3 separate regions of the Homo sapiens genome follow, and all the other regions are linked to region 2. Evidence: promoter capture Hi-C in 16 types of primary human blood cells and fetal thymus (Javierre and others, 2016). All regions are on one chromosome and are shown on one strand. The core of a region is centred on a gene start or on the middle of the fragment in contact, and the rest is flanking DNA. Distances in the headings are between cores, read along the strand shown.

The links. Contacts are between HindIII fragments. The CHiCAGO score rates a contact against its expected background, and 5 or more counts as called.
Region 1: a contact is called between a fragment that was not itself captured here and the fragment with the promoter of TMEM132B in region 2, in 2 of 17 cell types (total B cells and naive B cells). The highest score is 5.4, in total B cells.
Region 3: a fragment that was not itself captured here is called in contact with the fragment with the promoter of TMEM132B in region 2 in 2 of 17 cell types (naive CD4 T cells and total CD4 T cells); the score reaches 5.2 in naive CD4 T cells.

Annotation. Positions count from the first base shown.
Region 1 is chr12:129,907,507-129,911,066 of GRCh38, forward strand. No RefSeq gene overlaps it. Among named protein-coding and RNA genes, the nearest start is that of TMEM132D, 5.3 kb to the left of the region's middle. The HindIII fragment of the contact is 786 bases long and covers 950-1,735 here.
Region 2 is chr12:125,184,978-125,188,654 of GRCh38, forward strand. It overlaps TMEM132B (transmembrane protein 132B), which reads left to right and starts at 1,409. Exons shown (of 9, transcript NM_001366854.1): 1 at 1,409-1,889. The coding sequence starts at 1,823. RefSeq lists an enhancer at 610-1,143 and a silencer at 1,192-1,401. The HindIII fragment of the contact is 2,339 bases long and covers 383-2,721 here.
Region 3 is chr12:130,025,177-130,029,207 of GRCh38, forward strand. No RefSeq gene overlaps it. Among named protein-coding and RNA genes, the nearest start is that of LINC02418, 15 kb to the right of the region's middle. The HindIII fragment of the contact is 2,075 bases long and covers 1,252-3,326 here.

The sequences.
Region 1 (3,560 bases), core at 93-2,592, 4.7 Mb after region 2:
AAATCATCAAACTTCTTGGTTCTTCCAGGTTAACCATACTAAAATCCAGACCTACTTTTACTCTCCTCTCTCTGTCCTTCTCCCTTTCTCATCTCTTCCCAGAGCTCCACAAGCAGATGTTAAAAAGTTGGAATATTCGTGCTCTCCCAGGTGACCCATGGTGTCACCAGGTAACTGCCAGGTGAACCTCGCAGAGCAGCCTCTTCTGCAAAGACCAATAGGATACTGCTGCATTTTCCTTAAGTTACTGATTTATGGATCAATACAGAAAGGTCAGCAGGCCTTGAATAGTCTTCTTTGAAGTCACATGCTGGACTTCTTGGTACAAATTATGTATTTGTACCTCTAGCCTGATTAGTCCCTGAGTGTTTCTCGGTCAGGGGTGAGGTCAAGGAGAAGCTGCAAGGCTGCCTCTGCAGGAAACCCTTTGTTGTAAAGACTGCCTGGATTTTGCATGCACTGGAACCTGTGACAGAAGCATGTTCCCTCACCCCTGCTTCCTCTACCTGCTGGAGACACAGCCAGACCACATGCCCTGGCCTTCCTAAGGTTAACTGTCGCTATGGTTATGTCCAAAAGAACCTGGGAGGAAGGGATGTGCCTCCCTTTCAGGGGGAGAGTTTGGGAGCCTGTGAAACCCTCAAACTCTCTTCCTGCCTTTTCAAGCTGAATGCAAAAATTCAAGGGAGAACCCCCAAGCCTTCAGCAATGGCAGAGTTGCAAGTTGGAATGAGTCTGGTTCCGAAAATGTGGAATGCCACTTCTTTTGCATGGAATTTTGGGTGAGCAAGAAATAAGATGACATGGTGTTAAGTCATGGAGGTTCAGGGCTTTGTTTGTTAGAATGAACCATTCCAGGCAATACAGGGTGTATTGATCTCATCACTGCCAACAGAAGCAGGAGTGGGATATAAGGAAACACCTCTATCAGCTCCTGAGACTACAGCGAAGCTTTGGCCCATTTTACAGTATGAAGAGAGTCCAAAGGAGGGAGGAACCACCAACCACCACCAGCTAATGAATGCATGAGGTGCTCTGTCCCCTGTACCAGGAACTAGGGAAAAGGCAAAGGATGCCCTTGGAGAGCTGGAATTCGATCTCTTGGACGCATGAGGTGCTCTGTCCCCTCTACCAGGCACCAGGGAGAAGGCAAAGGATGCCCTTGGAGAGCTGGAATTCGATCTCTTAGGGTCTTCAAAGAATATTGCAGAGAACAAGTATCATCGGTTCCAAGAGAGGGTCCTCCTGGGCTGGAGCAGTCTGAGGAATGGGATTTATATGGATTCCTCCTTCCATTCAATACTTATTTATTCAGGGTGTACCGCTGGCCAGGCCCTAGAGGCTTCACAGTGAACAAGCCGTTCACGAAATTTATTCCCATGGGGACAGACAGGAAACAAGCACACCAAAGAACAAGATGCTTTCAGGAAGAACCTGTGAAGAACTCAAGTATCATAATGACTTGCCCTTTGGAGAGGTCGAGAAAGGCTTCTTGGAGCAGCGTAATCTCTCTCATGAGAAGGATCCTCAGAGTGCAGACCCGGGTCATACACCTGCCTGGTGGCTGGGACAGCAGGTGCAAAGGCCATGAGGCATCACAAAGGGTGGAGGAGCAGAAAGCCCCATGTGGCTGAACTTAGTGAGCCAGGGAGAGCATGGTGGGAGGGGAGGTACAGGGGAGGCGCAGGAGACAGAGGATGCAGGGGCCTCGTCAGGACTCAGGAAGCCAGAGTGAAGCTTCAAGCGGGGAAGTTGTAGGAGCCCATTCACATTTTCGGAAGATCTCTTGGCGTACCAATAGTACCACAGAGGCAGGGGCTAGGCACAGGTGCGTCTGGTAAAATGTAGCATGCCAGACTCCCATCCCTTCCACGGGGCCCCTGTTCTGCTTCCCACTGGGCCAAATCCAGAGGCCTCTGCGTGTGCCAGGCAGGTGGCTGCAGGAACAATCGCAGGCCCAGCCCAGGGAGGCCGGCCAGACAAGACCCGCACAGCTCAGAGACAGCACAACATGCCGGGGCATCCTGTCGGCGTTCAGAGCTATGAGTGTGTAGTGGCCCCTGGAATGCTGAACCTGTGTCTCCTTTCCACTCTGATGTTTGGTCTCTCTCTTCTTTCTCAAGAACGCCTGTATTAATTTCTCATCTAGCAAGTCCCGACCCTGCGGTTTCAGAACATGCCCTGTGCTGGGCCGGTGGGGTTTTCTAGGATGGAGAAAATGAGGTGGTGGGGTTGACTGACACTGAGGTCCAGGCCGGACTTGGAAATCCATCTGCCAGCACGTGGTTTGTGTGAGCAGCTGTGAGCTCTGTTTAGGGTGTCTCCCTCTGTGATCACTGAGAACTGGCACTCTGCAGCCCACTTGCAGGGTGTGGGCCTTCCCTTTATGGGGGCTCGGCTAACAGCACACAATAAGAAGGAAGAGGGGGTGTCCCACCAGAGATCGGCCTCCCCAGGAACAGACTCAGTCCCTGTCCATCCCTCCAAGAGGACTTGACCTCAAACAAAAGAGAAAACTGGCAATCATGTGGCCTGCAGCACGAGCCCGTAATGAGTCCATTTGACGTGCATCAAAAAGATCAATTTACTTCTCGGAGCTAAGCATCCAAACGATTTGATTTCTTTTGTCCGCTTAAAATCAATGTGTCTAATGGACTTGAAGGGCTGGGTTCTTAGATGACAGAGGCCTTTGTCAGGGAATCAATTAACCCATTGCAGAGATCTTCAGTTCAGACGTACACATCCCACGATTATTGTTGAAGAAAATAGCTCCTCTGCTACTGTACCAAAAAGGAAAATTAAAAAGTGTCTATGAAATGGATACACAGGGAGTTAATCCTGCCCTAGAGGAGCTCTTAGTGGCCAACAAGGGAAAGGGTTTATCCAGCAATTTGTTGAGTTTGCCAACATCAAAGAGAACGTAAACACGCAAGATGCTGTTGCTTGTCAATGTATACACCAGCTTCAAAGCTGAAGTCTGAGGATAGTGTCAATGGCCCAATTTAGACGTTATTAAAGGGTGCTTTGGGGAGTGAGCACATGAATTGAAATAAAAGGGTTGTGGCTACTTCTGGTTTAGAGGAACTCAATTTTTTCTCTTAATAAAAGCCCCCTAATTTCCTCAAGTAATTAACTTAATGTTCACTCCAATTTCTTTGTGAAAACTAACTTCGCTGAGCGGTGTGCCTTTCTTTGTGTGAGATTTCCATGGTAAGAGAGTAAAGGGCCACTTTTGTCCTCTTCCCTCCCCACAGATGAGCCAGTCCAAGTCGGAACGAAGAGACCCTGCCTCCACATAGCACAAACGTCTTTAAGAAGACTGCCTCTAACAATCTTTTTTTTTTTTTTTTTTTTTTTTTTTGATTCAGAGTCTCACTCTGTCACCCAGGCTGGAGTGCAGCGGTGCGATCTCAGCTCACTGCAACCTCCGCCTCCTGGGTTCAAGCAATTCTCCTGCCTCAGCTTCCCAAGTAACTGGGACTACAAGTGCCCGTGCCCACCACCACACCCAGCTAATTTTTGTATTTTTAGTAGAGACGGGGTTTCACCATGTTGGCCAG
Region 2 (3,677 bases), core at 159-2,658:
AGTTCCGACTTCCTAGGTCAGGGGCTTTGTATGTGTTATTGGGGACACCAGGTGATGTGCAATGCCTTCCATCTCTCAGATGAGAAAACTGAGGCTCAGGGAGGAATAAGGGACTCGCCCCAGCTTGCACAGCTAAGGAGCGGCAGAGCTGGGATTCTCAGCCAAGACTCCATGACTCCAGAGCCTTCCCCAAATCTGTCTTTTCATCACCCCACGCTGCCTTATTGACCATTTTCAAAGAGTTTGACCCACTTTTTCATGGAAAACTGAGATGGCAGAGCAAGTGGCTGGTGTGGTGGGGGCTGGGGCGGAGCCAGGACTCCAAGCCACCCTCCCAGGTGGGCAACCCCCCATATCCCCTGTCCTCCCAGCGTGGTGGGGAAGCTTGAAGGCATCTGAGCGCTGCTGGAGGCTCCCCCACATGCTCCCAGCATGACTCATTCATTCGGCTTAGCCCCCCGTGGCTTTGCCCTGGTTGGGGGTGGGGCGCCCAGGAGGATCAGTGGTTTCTGGGATAATAGGTACTGGGGCTCCGTGTGACCTGTGACCTCCCTCCGCACTCTGGCTGCGTCCCTGCCCCTGGATGGAAGAATTCGACCACCTAGTACCCGGCCCTGCGCAACACCTCCGCTCCGTCACTGCCTGACCCTGCGCTGGGAACTCATTCCCGGGACCGCCAGGGAATCTGCCCTTCCCAGGAGAACTCCTGGCTGCCTCCGCGTGCTCCTAGGGCCTGCGCGAAATGGGAAGGCGCATCCTCTAGCCTGGGTAAATAAGGGACCCTGCCTCACCCGGGTGGCCATCCCCAGGCCGCCTTCGCTGTGTTTCAGGTCACCGCACCCAGCCTGCGCACCCCTAGCCCCCATCCCGGTGCCGTGCAGAGGCTCTGCACACAGCCTCGGCCTCCCGGAGGCCCTCCCCTCTCTCCTCTCCCCTCTCCCACAGGCACTCCCTAGCTGTGCCACATTTAACCCGGGACCTCCTGTCCGCGCTCAGTCTTGCAGTCTCTGGCCCCGGCAGACACCACCTCTCCAGAGGTCGCTGCCCCATCCCGGTGACCCTCCGCTGGCCTCCTCACCCCTCGACCTTGGCAACTCCTACCGCTGCGCCCCAAGACGCCGGATCTAGCTGGGCATCCCCTCTCTGCATTGCGCACCCCTCCCGCAGCCCCTGTACCCGCGAGCGCCCGCGACCCCCGGCGGGCTCCCGGAGCCTCCCGGCCGGGCGCCCTCCCCCGAACCGCCGAGCAGTGGCGCGTCCCGCCGCCTACTGGCCGGGCTGCCGCCTGTGCCCCGGCTCCCGGGCGGCCCCTCCCCCGGCCGCGGCCCCGCCCTCCGCTCCTCTCCTCCTCCTCCTCCTCCTACTCCTCCTCCTCCTCCTCCTCCCCCCGGCGCTCGCTCGCTCGCTCACTCTCTCGCTGGCTCGAGGGGCGGCCGGCAGATGGCGATGGCAGAGGCGGCGGCGGCGGCGGCGGCGCGACCGGGATGGGACGGGCGCTGGGGCGCAGGAGCCGCGGCGGCGGCGGCGGCGGGGGCCGCGCAACTCGGGCCAACTGCGGGGCAGCCGGCCAGGGCGCGGGGCGCTGAGCCTCGGCCGCCCCAGCTCCCCAGCCACGCACGGCCGAGCCCAGGAGAGCGCGCAGAGGCGCAGCCGAGGAAGCGCCGCCAGCGCCGGCGCATGCGTCTGGGGAGGAGCGGCGCGCTGGGAGCGAGCCATGCCCGGCGCCCGGGCGTAGCCGCCGGGGGCTGCTCCGGGAGCCGCGGGCCGGGCCGGGCGCGCGAGAGGAGCAGCCCCGCGCCGCACCCACCGCGCGCCGAGGACCATGCCGCCCCCGGGCCGGGCGCCGCCGCTCGGGCTCCTGCTGGCGCTGACTGCGCTCCAGTGCCCAGGTAACGCGTCCCCGGACCCCATCCCCGACCCCGGCCGAGGCGCACAAAGTTGGGTGAACGGGCGGCTACCTCCTTCTCAAGTCCCTGGCAGCGCGCATCTCCCGGACTTGGACAGACCTGGGGAGACCCTGGGAACCCAGGAGCCCCCGGCGCGTTCCCCTTTGCCTAGCGCCTGGGGAGAGCCCGCCTGCCTTCTCCCCCAAACCCTTAGCTTCCTTGCGGATCCTTTCGGGACGCACGGGGGCCACAGACCGGGGCACTCAGCCTCTCGAGGCGGGTGGGGACGCGACTGCAGGAATCGAGCCCCCTCCCCGCCCTGCCTTGGGCCAAATCCCCCCCAGGTCCCAGTTCCTCCAGGGGTTTTGCTGGGCGGGGGCGTCGACGCAGCCCTTCTCCAGTGTCTTGCTGCCCGCGGTCGCACAGTGGTGCGTTCCCGGGACACCTGCGGGCCCCGGAGATGTCTCGGCCGGCGCTGTCTGGCTTGTCCGCAGCCCCTCCCCACGCCCCGCGGCCCTCCCCTGCTTTCACACTGCCCTCCCCAAGCTACCCACCCTCGCCAAATGGCCTCCTCTTGGCCAAAGAGCAGCCCGCTGCGCGCCTCCTGCAAACGCGGTCTACTCCAGCGCCCTGACCCCAAGGCGGGCGGGAGAGGGTAGCCGCGGCCAAGCAGTCCAGGACGCGCCGGGGAGCCTGGAACGCGGTGCTGTCCAGAGCCATTGCCTGGGCACCGGGGAGCTGGACTCCCTGCTGAACCAGCTCAGCTGTCGCCCAATCCTAGTGAGTGGGAAAAGCAAAATAGTCAGGTATTGTCTGTCTTCGCTGGAGTTTGGAAAGCTTTCTACCCACCTTGGTGTGGCTACATGTTGGTTCTATAGAAAGCGTATCCTAAAATGACAATTCCTCCCCTCCCCCCACCCCATGCAAGCAGTGGAGAAAATCCTAAAGGCTCAGATGAACCCCGGGAACAGTCACGAGCAGCCTTCATGTGCTTTTGAAATCTCAGTTCTCCAAACCTTTTAAAATCAAGACCCATGATTTGGGAACAGGTAGCTTTTGCTTTAGAAAATCTCTCCCCATTTCCTTAACAAACAAATCGCACAGACAGGCAGAATGCAGTAGAAAAATACAACTATAACTTTTCGGCTTTCACTGTCTTGGTAAGGTTGCAGTTAGGAGCAAACCTGGCATGTCAACTTGATGTTCGATGTATTTTATTTGCATGGAAAAAGTCAGTGTCGGCTTCCTTTGAGATGCCCTTAAGTGACCCAAAATATTTACCAACACCTTCGACTTGAAGAAAACCTTCTATTGGAGATCTCCGTCAGCGTTCGGCTTTGGTTCAGCCTAGAGAATGGCATTGGGCTTAACGTGGATGAATCTTGCCTGCTTGGCTAAGGAGCAGCTATGATAGCTGTTTTGCTTTCGGCATTCCTCTGCGGTCCACGAGAGGGGCTGCTGCTGGGGCCGAGGCTGTTTTCTCTTAGCTGAAGCCCTGGGACCTGTTTGCAAAAGTGCAGTCCCTCGGACTTGAAAATTGCAGTTTTGTCTCTATTTTGTTTCTCCACGGGGGTCAGCATTTGCCTGGATGTGCTTATAAGTGAATATCGGAAGTCTCTCAGAGAAGCTGCCTGCATAATGCTTTGTAAGAGAATAGGATGGTCCCCCTACCACCCCCCCACCCCCGTCCCCCGCCCTCTCCCCCAGCAACAGAAGAGCCTGTGCCTGGCTCTGGAAGGCCCCATGTTGGGAGGGAAGGTGAGCTCCCACTGAAACCTGCTGCTGGCCGGC
Region 3 (4,031 bases), core at 1,039-3,538, 4.8 Mb after region 2:
CCTGGCCAACATGGCGATACTCCATCTCTACTAAAATACAAAAATTATCTGGGCATGGTGGTGGGCGCCTGTAATACCAGCTACTCGGGAGGCTGAGGCAGAAGAATCATTTGAACCCGGGAGGCGGAGGTTGCCATGAGCTGAGATCATGCCATTGTATTCCAGCCTGGGCAAAAGAGCGAGACTCTGTCTCAAAAAAAAAAAAAAAAAAAAAGAAAAAGAAAGAGAAAGAAATAATGAACGAACAGCTCTATATTTGGTATAGAGTTTCTGACAATAGTCTTCTGACTCCAGCTGAAAATATGTGAGTGAGCATTTGATTTGGGGTTAGTAATTTTAAGCTGAAAAGTTTAAGAAAATGTGAAGTTTAAAACTGGTTACATGATTTGAGATGTTTAACAGAATTTAAGATTTATTCAACTTTTAAGAGTTAAGTATGTTAAGTAGTAAGAAAAACGGAAGTGTTTTTGAAAGATGAGATTATTCCATTAACATATGCTGTTGAAAACATTTGATGAAAGTTAATTAACAAAGTTGCTAATGTTTTCTTCAAGCATAATGTGAAAGTTGGCTAGATTCACATGTAGACTAATGAGGTTTGTAAAATGAACATGGAAGATTAAAGGAGAAGTTGCTTTTTGTGTGTTTTTGGTTTTGTTTTTAATTTACAATTTAAAAAATTCAAAAGCTGGTCTCAAAGACACCACCTTGAGACCAGGTTCAGAGCTTTATCATAACCTTAATCCCCTACCCACCTACTTCCCGAGAAGTAAAAACCAACTCCAGAAAGATTAACACGGAAATGGTGTTTTAAGGGCAATTTGAGGGAGAAATAAGAAAGGGATTTGCATCGTATGGCAGGGTAATAGTTTAATATTTCATCTTAGGCCTCTCACTGCTTCCCCTCACTGTGTCTCTCCTTTCAACGCCCTCTCCTCACCCTGTTTACTCTTCCTTGGTCATCTGTGGACGTGTATTCTTCCATGCATTTTTGTTTTTGTTTTTGAGACAGGGTCTTGCTCTGTTGCCCAAGCTGGAGTGCAGTGGTGGGGTCATGGCTCACTGCAGCCTCGGACTCCCAGGCTCAGGCGACCCTCCTGCCTCAGCCTCCTGAGCAGCTGGGACTACATGCACGTGGCACCACACCTGTCTAATTTTTTTGTTTTTTGTTTTTTTGTAGAAGTAGGGTTTCCTGATGTTGCCCAGGTTGGTCTCAAACTCCTGGGCTCAAGCCACACAACTTTTAAAGTAAGCTTATCCATTTCCTCAATGGATTTTCACTAGGATTCTATTGAACCCATAGAATAACTTGAGGGGGCGATGGCGTGTACTTTCTGTTACTTGCAAACCACAGCTTCCAATCAAGATGCTTCTCATCTCCTTTGTAAAAGTAAAGATTTCTGGCTGCACTTTTAGCCCTTCAGGTGCAATGCATCTTTGGAGGTTAAGCATTTAGTTCAGTCCCCCGGGTATAATTGGTGCTGGGTAAATATTTGTCATATAAGTTAATTTCATATCTAAACTCATCCTACAAGAAGTTGAGGTTTCAGAGCAACTCGTCTCATCCTCGTATAACTTACCTGGAGCAGCTTAGCCTCTAGGTGGCACTGCAGAGCCGGAGACCTGAGTATCCAGCCTTCATTAAATAAACCATCTCAAAGAAAAATGAATAGGGAGTAATTTGGGGAGATTAGATGGCTTGGGCTGGGACTCCTACCATTGCTCTCGCAATGCTCCATCTCTGGAGCTGGGGGGAACGTCTCAGTTCAGAAATTCCAGAACCATTCATCAACCCTTGGCGTTGACATGAAATGAAATAAAGTCGTTAGCTTGTAAAATACAGGATTTCGTTCTCCCTATATCTGTCAATCTGTTTTATGGTTGGTTCAGCCCTGCCATAAAATGTGAAGGAATTAGAATAAATGCTGGATTTACCGCTCCTTGAATACGCTTTCTGAAATGATACAGCCACGCGATACGGACACTCGGAGCCAGACAAGAACTTCTCTGTGCAGATTGTATACTCTAGTCCCTCCGGAGTTCATGAGCTTGGCCAAGGGGAGCTGCCTGTAGCATGTCTGCAGGGAAAATTAACATAAAACCGAATAAGTGACATCTTCAAGTGACTTCATCAATGGGAGCTAAGTCATGCCAAAGTTGTCTACTTGGGGCAGCGTAAACAAAGAAAGAAGTGACATACACCAACATCGATGGAGCCCCAAACATTATTCTGAGCAAAAGATACCAGACCAAGAAGTGGGTGTGTATTCTATGATGTCATGTATTTAAAATTCTGGCAAAGGCAAATCTAATCTATAATGGCAGAAAAGAGATAGGGAGTTATCTACAGTTGGGAACGGGGGTGATGGAGGGGCACAGAGAACTTTAAGGGTGATGCTAATGTTCTTCTATGTCTTTATTAGGATGGTTACCTGAGTTGTATATGTTAATCAAAACTCATGAAATCATTGCAATTAATGAGTTCAGGTGAGACTCACCTGAAGTAGGTGAGATTTATTGTATATAAGCTATACATCAATAAAGTTCATTTAAAAAAATCAGGATGTCTGACTTGGCACAGAAACTCCAGAGCCATGTTGCCGTGTGTGGACAGTAACTAATAGTGAATATACTCAGAAACTTTTTAAAAAGTTGTTCACTTCCTTATTTGATAAAGTATTAATTATCAGCAAATGTCAGCAATGCAGGCCAAGGGGCTTTGGGCAACAGCCAGCAGTGTTCATTAGCCTTAACCATCTCTGAAATATTTTCAATAAATGCATAGTTTATTCTTCCTCTACATCCCTAGGCTGTGTTTCTATGAAAGGCTCCTTGTCCTCTTGGAGATGGCTTCATTAGTCTTGGTAACAACTAACTGGTCATCTGGAAGTCAGCATGAGCTGGACAGGAAGTCAAGGACGGTCACCATTCATTTATTCATTTATCTGTTTGTTAATTCACTATTTCCTGAGTACCTATGAGGCCAGCTCTGTGTTCAGCAATTTTATGACAGAAAATGAGTTCGGATCTATCCTAAGAAGTTCACATGGATTAATTTAGTATTTATTAAATACTAGCTGTCTAATTGTTGTATGTAGAAAAAAGTTTGTGCTTCAATGGAAAACTATTATTTGTCACAGAGGACACCCATCTGATTATAGTCTTTCATTGTCTTTGAGCTATATTACAAATCTTTAAGTTGAAGATAACCGGCAGAAATGCAAAAATCATTCATATAGAAATGCAAATCCTATAAAGGCTAGAGATCCTATAAGAGGAGGACGGTCGGTAGACGTCCAGTTGACCTCCTTCCTCTGAAAGAATCAAGCTTGCCTTCATTTGAGCAGACATTTCAGCATTCCTGATCTATAAATGTGTCTGTTCTTAGGATTCTCTTTAGAACTGGTGGTAACATCTGTCGGGTTTCATCATTTACTAGTGAGCAGAATAGAATGTAATCATTAACATGCATTCATTTGTAAATCTGCATGACAGTCACGATTTTACCTTTTTTGAGAATTATCTTTTAACACACGATATACAGGGAACACTAACAATTAGCGCAGTTGGGGAGGTTACTGACATCCCAGATCACTGGGAATGGGGCGCTGGCTCCATTTGGTACCATCTCAAATTCTGGAACAAGGATTCTCTCCCCCACCATCCCCACACATCCAGTCCTCGAATCTGGCTCTCTGGGGCTTATGTTTTTCTCTCATGATATTGAAGGATACAGGCTAGGGTGGCCTGCACTGGCTAAAACTCCTAGAGGCTGGGGTGTCACTCCTGGTAGATGCTCCACAAGCAAAATCCTGGCTGCTGTCATCAGGGGACCCTCAGTGGACCCCAGGGGAGGTGGCTTGCACGGCGTCTCTGTGCAGGGCTCAGTGGGGGCACAGCAGAGTGTGGGCACGTGGGCTGCTGGCTGAAGGGCCCACGCTCATGGGTGTTAGGGATGACAAGGGTCACACAGGAGGCAGAGGTCCCATAGCCCCACGGTTCCTAGACCTGACTCAGGAAGCGAGCCCCAT